2 separate regions of the Homo sapiens genome follow, and region 2 is linked to region 1. Evidence: promoter capture Hi-C in 16 types of primary human blood cells and fetal thymus (Javierre and others, 2016). All regions are on one chromosome and are shown on one strand. The core of a region is centred on a gene start or on the middle of the fragment in contact, and the rest is flanking DNA. Distances in the headings are between cores, read along the strand shown.

Region 1 (3,958 bases), core at 652-3,151:
CCTGTACACATCAAGTCAGAATGGGCTAGCCCATCAGGGAAGCAGCGGTAGAAGAAATCTGGGCGTGGCCTGGAAGAAAGCAGCATGGTTGGAACGTAAATCATTAACTCCAGAAATTATTTTTCAGTTGTAGCAGACATTAATAATCCTGTTAACTATTGGTCAAATAGTGCCCCAGGCAAAATAAGGTAACTGGCTTAGTATAGTCACCACACTAAGAGAAAAGCCTTTCAAGGTGAGCATTTAAATTAGGGGAAAAACGCCCATTCCAGCACATGATTACTTTTTAGGGCAAACAGCAAATGACACTGCAGCTTCAGGAGGTGCTCAAGAGGACACTGACCGACTGCTGTGGCCGTTGGTGGGAAATGCTGTTCAGGCAGAAAAGAGCCCAGGTGTCACCTGGAGGACTGAGGTATGGGGAAGGGAGTAAGCGTTGAATGACAAAAGAAAAATCAGAGTGAAGATAAAGGAGAAAAGAATGAGAAAGACGTGTGGTGGACACCATTAACCTCTCTGTTCTGGTGGGTAAGGGCTGAGGCAGATGCTGGGGTGGTTAGCTGTTGTCACTTACCTCCCTACGATCAGTTTTATTGTGTTGGTAAAGACGCCATTCAGAGCCAGGGCAAGGCTGGCAGCTGCAAAGCAAAGCCATTAGTTGAAAGGATCTGTCTAGGAGGAAAGGTATGGTCATGGCCTCGTTATGAGAGCAGCCGTGCTGTTTCTGAGATGGATAGAATCCAACCAGGCCTGGGCACAAAAATAATTAGGGTCCTCAGTGATCACTCTTTTGTAGCCGAGAACTTTTGTACTAGGCCAAAGACATTTCTGAGGTACAAATAACCCAGTGCATTTAGGCACAGGGCTGCCTGCCGTGTAGCCTGCGTAACCAAGTCCCTGCAGTGCTATTTTCCTCTCCCGCGGGGATAGAGTTCCTTTAGGAATGCAGAACTCAGTGGCCTCCACACAGGCTCACCGTGGCTGAATCCCACAACGACCTCCTAGGTTCCCAGCACGAAGAAACCGGCCCGAAAGGGCTAGCGCTCACCCAGGCAGGCTTGTCTGCTGTCTCTTGTGTCTGCCTTCTTGAGAAATTTGGCCAGGAAGATCAGAGACAGTGGAGAGAGAAATGCAATAACCTGAATCAGAATGTCAGAGGTTAAAAACAATCCAAAAAAAAGCCACACTCGTGCTCCTACAGGAAAGAGGGATGTGACACAGCAGGACTCACTGGAGCTAACATAAGGTCTCTGAGTGCGCGTAACCGGGCGCCAGGCAGCGCCACCAGTGAACAGCAGCGCCCGTGCGGCTCGGGCCCCGGTACCTCAGGCTGAGGCACAGAGCGCCCGGGAAAACGTTGTCTCAGCCCAAAGAGGCTCGGACACCCTCCTCTCTCAATCAGGATCTTAAACACTCGAGCCCTAGGAGGCGGAACCCAGCGCACAGCAGCGGAGTGGGCAGTGGGTCCCTACAAAGGCCGTCTCGGGGTGGAAAACGCACAGGTGCCCGCGGGAAGCCGGGTCATGGGGAGGGAGGAAAGACGATCTTTCTCCACGCACAAACATCGGCTTGGTGGGGAAATACTCCGCCTCCACGTAGGGGTTCCGGTAGAGCCACATCTCCTCCGGCTGGATGAGTCTCTGGAACGGGGGGAGCAGCTCCGTCACCCTAGAGGGGAACAAAGAAGCGCAGAGCAGGTCGCCTGGCTTCCTCCCCGCTTCCCCACTGCCCGACCCGCCGCCCCGTGCCGCCCGCCTGCCTGGGAAGCGGGGCCGCCCGGGCCCGGCCGTGGATCTTTCTTACAGGAAGGCCGCGAACAGCGCGAGCCGCACGCCCACTTCGGCCCCAAAGGCCACCGCCGCCGCCGCCTTCCCCATCCGGCCGCGAGCTCCGAGCGACGCTGCGCTGACGTGGCCACCTCCGCGGGGAGGGCCGGGCCGGGAACTGGGCACCGCCCCCTCTCCCAGTTGCCCGCGCTCCGGCGGCTCCCCAGGAAGACGGCCTGGCGGCTGTGCCGAGGGCATCGTCTGGCAAAGGGTACGCAAAGCCAGCGGAGCTGCCCTCTGGTGCGTTCAGCAGGGAGCCAGCGCCCCAGTTCCAGCCGAGTAGGTCGGCGTACGGTCCATCATCAGCAGCTCGTCTCCACGGCCCAACCACACCACCGCGGGGAGCAGCCTTCTCCCGGGACCTCGCCTCTAAATGGAAAACCAAACAGCCCGCTCTCAGATCCTCGTTCCTTAGCAACACAGCCGCATTCTGCAGGAAGCTACACTACCTGAGGTTGGCTGGATTGTGTCATTTAGTCCTCCCACCCAGGATGGCCTCCTGCCCAGAGTGTTGTAGCAAAAAATTATTGGCAAAGAACAAGCCCACATATTTAATTTGGAACATACAGGACAATTTATTGAAGTCAATCTCAAGCAAAATCTGAAATCAGTGGAATGTCATTAAAAACCTTTCCAAATTAATCCTCACGGAAGCAAAAAACACATTGGAATTCCAAAGTATTTGTAAAATAAAAAAGGCAACATCTCAGTAAATATAATGTACAAAAATTATATGTTCCTACCAGCACACACATCAGTAAAGAAGCTTAAATATTACAGGCAACCCTAAATACACTATAACTAGTCAACAATAAGCTATCTATATACAGGTTAACCAAGCTTTACACGTTTCACACTATGCAATAAAACATAGGCCAATCAACAAAATCCTCAAAATATTATATATCTTGAAGTCTATGTGGCAACATCAAGTCATTATACAGTAATGCCCTAGTGGAACACCCCCAGGGAAAATTAACACTAATCCCTTAGTGTCAAGAGCTTCTAGCCAAGTCACAGAAACTCAAAAGAGATTGACTTTAGTGAATATTGATGCTTTGTTATTAAAGACTCAAGTCTCAAGTGATTTAGGCAAAGTAATGGTTCACAGGATCTACAAAGTTTATTACAGATAAAGTACAGAAATAACCAATCTACAAAGATCATTATCATAAAGAACACGAGAAAATGAAAACGGAGTCTGTAGGTATCTGTGTTTGTTGTGCAATATCACTCAAATGGGTACAAATGAGTTTCTCATATCAATTCCAAATATACACATACCCTTGTATATAAAAAATGATATTAGCCAGTTGTAATACTCATTTAGCATCTTGATTATTAGTGGCAATATAATTATCTTAACATAGGGCATGTAACAGGACAAATGAGATAAAATAATGACAACCAAGTAAGTTTTATCCAGTCCATTTCTAAACTGACAAGAATACCTTATTCAATACCTTATATAGGTCATCTGACAGATACTTGAGGGCTGTTTGCACACATCAAGTGTGTTGGCAGGCAGGGAGGGGAGCAGTAAAAGCTGAGGGTGCTTTCTCACTAACTAGCAGATGCAGTAATGCCACATAAGAAAACTAAGGACTGAATAAATGACTTTGGCATCTATTCTATTTTCCCTTTTTACTTACATGTAAATTACTTTTACAGCCTACTGAAGGACAGGCAATTCTCATCCCCCTCCCGCTTCATACATACGTGCCACAAGCACCCAAACTTGTCACTTATGCAATGGACTGACCAAAACAAAACAAAAAACAGAAATGTTTTTTGAAAGACACGGATTACCCACATTTTGGGAGTGTAACGTAAGTGCAATTTTTTGTTTTGTTTTTTTCCCTACATAGACATAGTAAAAGGAAAGAAGATGTGCTTGGGGAGAGGGTTGACAAAATGACAAAATAAAGAATGTACATAAAAAGTATTTGTAAAAATGCTGGTATCTCATGCAGGAGTCTCTTCCTCAAATGTGTTCAATCAATCTGAGCTATCTACTGTGAACACTCTCCCATTTGCAGAACTTCACCTTTAATCCACGCTAAAGAGGATAAGAGACTAGGCTATTTATTTTCAAAACAGTTTACAAAACAATGCTTTCTACTTCATAAATG
Region 2 (3,958 bases), core at 1-2,500, 170 kb after region 1:
TCTCAACTCTCGGAGTCCCCAAATAGAAGGAGAGCTGCAAAAATGGGGGGCACAGGTATGTGTGGAAAGAGAGCCGGGAGCACCAAATCAATTAGCAGGGCCTGACACCCAGGGCCAATGGCGTCCACCAGCCCCCCGACCCAGGGGATTTGGAGAAGGGCTTTTTTTTTTTTTTTAAATTGAAGAAAGTGAAAAGAGTAAGAGGGGACATTTTGCATGCAAATGGGCCACTGCCAGAAGAGCCCATTAAAATGTAAAAACTCCACATTCAGCCTGACAAAACGGTGCAAACTGCTGTGTTTGCCAGAGGGCCGGCAATAAAGCTCACAACAAAGGGGCCGGGGGACAATGGCAGACTGAATGGCCTCTGCCAGCAGGTCCCCCCGTGCGTTGCCATGGGGACCCCACCGGGGCTTACTAAAGGTATTTCCTGAGGAGAAAGGCCGAGCACACAGGCCCAGGCAGCCCGGCTAATCCTGACAGGAAGCCATGGCCATTCAGCAGCCCAGGGGCTTGGGGCCCAGAGTTTTGTTTTGTTTTTATTAAAAAAAGATTTCGGCCTTTTGTGCGTCCCACCTCGTCACTGTAATTTAGTGCCGAGCCGCCTGCACTAGCCAAAGCCACAGCCAGGACCCTGCACCCGCCCCGAGACCCCCCAAAAACAGATCCCCCCGAGCTGGGCAGCAAGACACGTGTAGAATCCCACTTGGGAATCGCAGGCGCCAAGAGCTATTGGCCTGGAGAGTTGTGTGTGGATCTTAAAAGACAGAGGGACTCTGGGTGTCGTAAAGGATAACGCAGCCTGAGAACTGAGTTTGGGGCTCAAGCTTCTATGCACGGATTCATCTGATGCCTCCTTCAAATCTGTACTTTTTTCCCCTAGGGATTTTGCCACCTTTCTCCAATCAGCACCAGTGTCCCCCACCTCCTCCCTACCTCTCACAATGGGGAGTTCACTACCTCACTGGGAGAAGGGCTGTAATTAAGTGATTAACAAAGGAATGCACCCAAGAGTTGTCTGAAAAGAAATTTCCCTCCTTCCTCTCTCCCCAGCAAAAGTTCTCACCCTATTGTTTACTGATACATTAAGGACAGAGCTGTACAGAAAACTCTTACTACACTCTTTCGCTCAACCTATTCCCAATACACTTTGCTTCTCTCCCTCCTATCTAAACAGGAAGAAAGCATTGCTCTGGAAAGAGGGAAGTTCATTCACTCATCCAAGAAGAGCAAAGGTAGATGCCCTGCGGCTATGGAGGAGGGCCGTCCAAGCTCACAGTTCCTAGAAGTTTGTGTCACCATTTCACATTTAGCACCAGAATCCAGCCTTGGCAGATTCAGGGAAGGAAGCCAAGGACACAGCTGGTGGTGAAGACAGAAACTCCTGTGTGACAACTGCCCCCTAGGACACAGTTTAGGGTCAATTAACATTTCCTGAACAACTTGCAAATGGAAAGAGCCATCCCCAATGAAGACTGAAAAATGAGAGGCTCAACTCATCTATTATGACTTGAACCCAAGTCTATCTGTGTTTGCAAAGGCTGTGCTGTTGCACCTAGACCTCCACCCAGAAACATGTTTTGGGGCTGACATTTTAATAGAAACATAGAGAGGAAAACATACTATTTCGGAGACATTAAGACTGTGACTAGCAACTGCCCCGGATACCCTGGGAAGCTTCTAAGGCCATATTGGGTGGGTCCTATTTTGGGAAAAGAAGTTGGGGCATCTGCACGATAATAGAAAGCTCCCAGGATCTGGTAAGGACCACTTAGGTGGACTGTAAGTTGGGGGGATCTAAACACTCAGGTTGGACCGGGGCAGGGGGAGTGTCTTCTCCTGCCTTTATTATAATATAAATCACATCCTAAACTCAAAGCAAAGTCCAACTCGTCATCACCTGTGACAGTGCATAAGAAAGAACATCTTCCACCAAGTTGTTAAAGTGGTGTGTGTGTGTGTGTGTGTGTGTGTGTGTGTGCAGGGGTCCCACTGCTGGAGGGGAGCTCAGACTCTCCCACCACTGGCCCGGAGCCCAGGCCTCCCAGCCATGTGTCTGCAGCTGCGACCTGTCATGCACTTCCTGGTCTGGGTTCTGTAATGGAAAGATCATTAAGAGTGGGGGAGGGTGGAGAGATGAATCAACGGCAAAGAGGTAACCCTGCAGCTCCCACTCTCCACTGAGCTCTGACCTTAAAGTTCGGTCAGGTTCCTTAAGGAAAAGAATGTATCGCCCTCCCCCCACCTCTCCCAGCTGGGGCCTCTCGAACAACCTCCCCTCCCCCAAACTCAGCAGAAATTGTATGGGGAAGGAAACGCCAGCAGCTGGGCAGGGAAAAGTTGCCGCTCCCTAAACTTGCTGATGAATTAGTAGAGGCTTCAGCTGTTTCAGGATGTGTCTTCTGGTCCCCCAAGCCCGACATGGGTGCTTGAGCTCACAGTTCACCTGGACTCTCAGCACCCCAAGTGCCTGCCATATCCCCGCAATCCCGTCTCATTCCTGCAATGGTGGGGCTGGGTCACCAGCCTCTCCAGAGTAGAGAAAGGAATGGGCTTCATAAAGTTACTTTTTCTCCACCGTAAAGAAATTCTCTTAAGGTTTCACACGATGAGACTAAAGACAATAAAACATCCTTTGAAAATGAAAAGCTGTAGAATAGTGGTTACCAAGGGGCTGGAAGAGGGGAGAAGGGGGAGTTAGCGTTGAACAGGTAAGGTGTCAGGGAAGGTGAAATGGATGGTGGTGATGGCTACACAGCGTGAATAAATTTTATGCTACAAAACTGTGCACTTAAAATTGGTGAAAATGCACCACAAAGAAATGATAAATATTTAAAGTGATGGATACAATACAGCAATTACCATGATTTGGTCGTTACATAATGTGTGCGTGGATCAAAACATCATACCGTACCCGACGATTATACATAACCATTATGCATCAATTACAAATTTAAAAATTGGCCGGGCACAGTGGCTCACATCTCTTAACTCCAATACTTCGGGAGGCTGAGGTGAGAGGATTGTTTGAGTCCAGGGGTTAGAGATCAGCCTGAGCAACAAAGTGAGACCTCATCTCTACAAAAAAAAAAAAAAAAGAAAAACAAAATTAGCCAGGCATGGTAGCGTGCACCTGTGGTCCCAGCTACTTGGGAGGCTGAGGTGGGAGGATCTCTTGAGCCCGGGAGGTCGAGGCTGCAGTGAGCTGAGATAGCAACACTGCACTCCAGCCTGGGTGACAAAGTGTGACCCTGTCTCAAAAACATTACATAATCAATTTAACTTAAAAAAATAAAAATAGTTAAAATGGTTAATTTTATGTTACATATATTTTACCACAACAAAAGAATTAGATGGCGCTGGGCTCGGTGGCTCACGCCTGTAAACCCAGCACTTTGGGAAGCTGAGGTGGGCGGATCACATGAGGTCAGGAGTTCGAGACCAGCCTGACCAACATGGAGAAACCCCGTGTCTACTAAAAATACAAAATGAGCCAGGTGTGGTGGCGAATGCCTGTAATCCCACCTACTCAGGAGGCTGAGGCAGGAGAACTGCGTGAACTCAGGAGGTGGAGGTTGCAGTGAGCTGAGATCGCACCATTGCACCCCAGCCTGGGCAACAAGAATGAAACTGTCTCAAAAAAAAAAAAAAAAAAAAAAAAAAGAATCAGGTGGTAATGGTAGCAGGCAGCATTAGTTTATTAAAAACGTTCTTACTTGGCAAAAAAGTTGATGATCCTTTGTTGGTTCCAAAAATCTGGAGGGAAATTTTACTGGCCTATGAAATCTAAAAATCTGGGACCACTGGTCTGTTCCACGAATTTCCAGGAGAGCTTGGACCCAGAGACTGCTTCATTCACATCCCATCTATCCATACCCCACACATTCATCCTTCAGTCTCACTTTTATGCACACAACATGAACGTTGAGCATTTAGTACTCTCAGTTTTAAGAAATTA

The links. Contacts are between HindIII fragments. The CHiCAGO score rates a contact against its expected background, and 5 or more counts as called.
Region 2: a contact is called between a fragment that was not itself captured here and the fragment with the promoter of PLPP5 in region 1, in 2 of 17 cell types (activated CD4 T cells and naive CD8 T cells). The highest score is 5.4, in activated CD4 T cells.

What each region holds. Positions count from the first base shown.
Region 1 is chr8:38,267,323-38,271,280 of GRCh38, forward strand. PLPP5 (phospholipid phosphatase 5) reads right to left here and starts at 1,902. Exons shown (of 7, transcript NM_001102559.2): 1 at 1,804-1,902; 2 at 1,560-1,668; 3 at 1,049-1,139; 4 at 575-638; 5 at 1-69. The coding sequence starts at 1,877. It overlaps NSD3 (nuclear receptor binding SET domain protein 3), which reads right to left. Exons shown (of 24, transcript NM_023034.2): 24 at 2,382-3,958. It also overlaps a transcript of DDHD2 not described here. RefSeq lists a silencer at 1,621-2,100. The HindIII fragment of the contact is 3,801 bases long and covers 1-2,590 here.
Region 2 is chr8:38,440,415-38,444,372 of GRCh38, forward strand. All of the region lies in intron 2 of FGFR1 (fibroblast growth factor receptor 1), which reads right to left. Among named protein-coding and RNA genes, the nearest start is that of FGFR1, 26 kb to the right of the region's middle. RefSeq lists enhancers at 16-805, 806-1,596, 1,597-2,387, 2,388-3,178, 3,179-3,958. The HindIII fragment of the contact is 850 bases long and covers 826-1,675 here.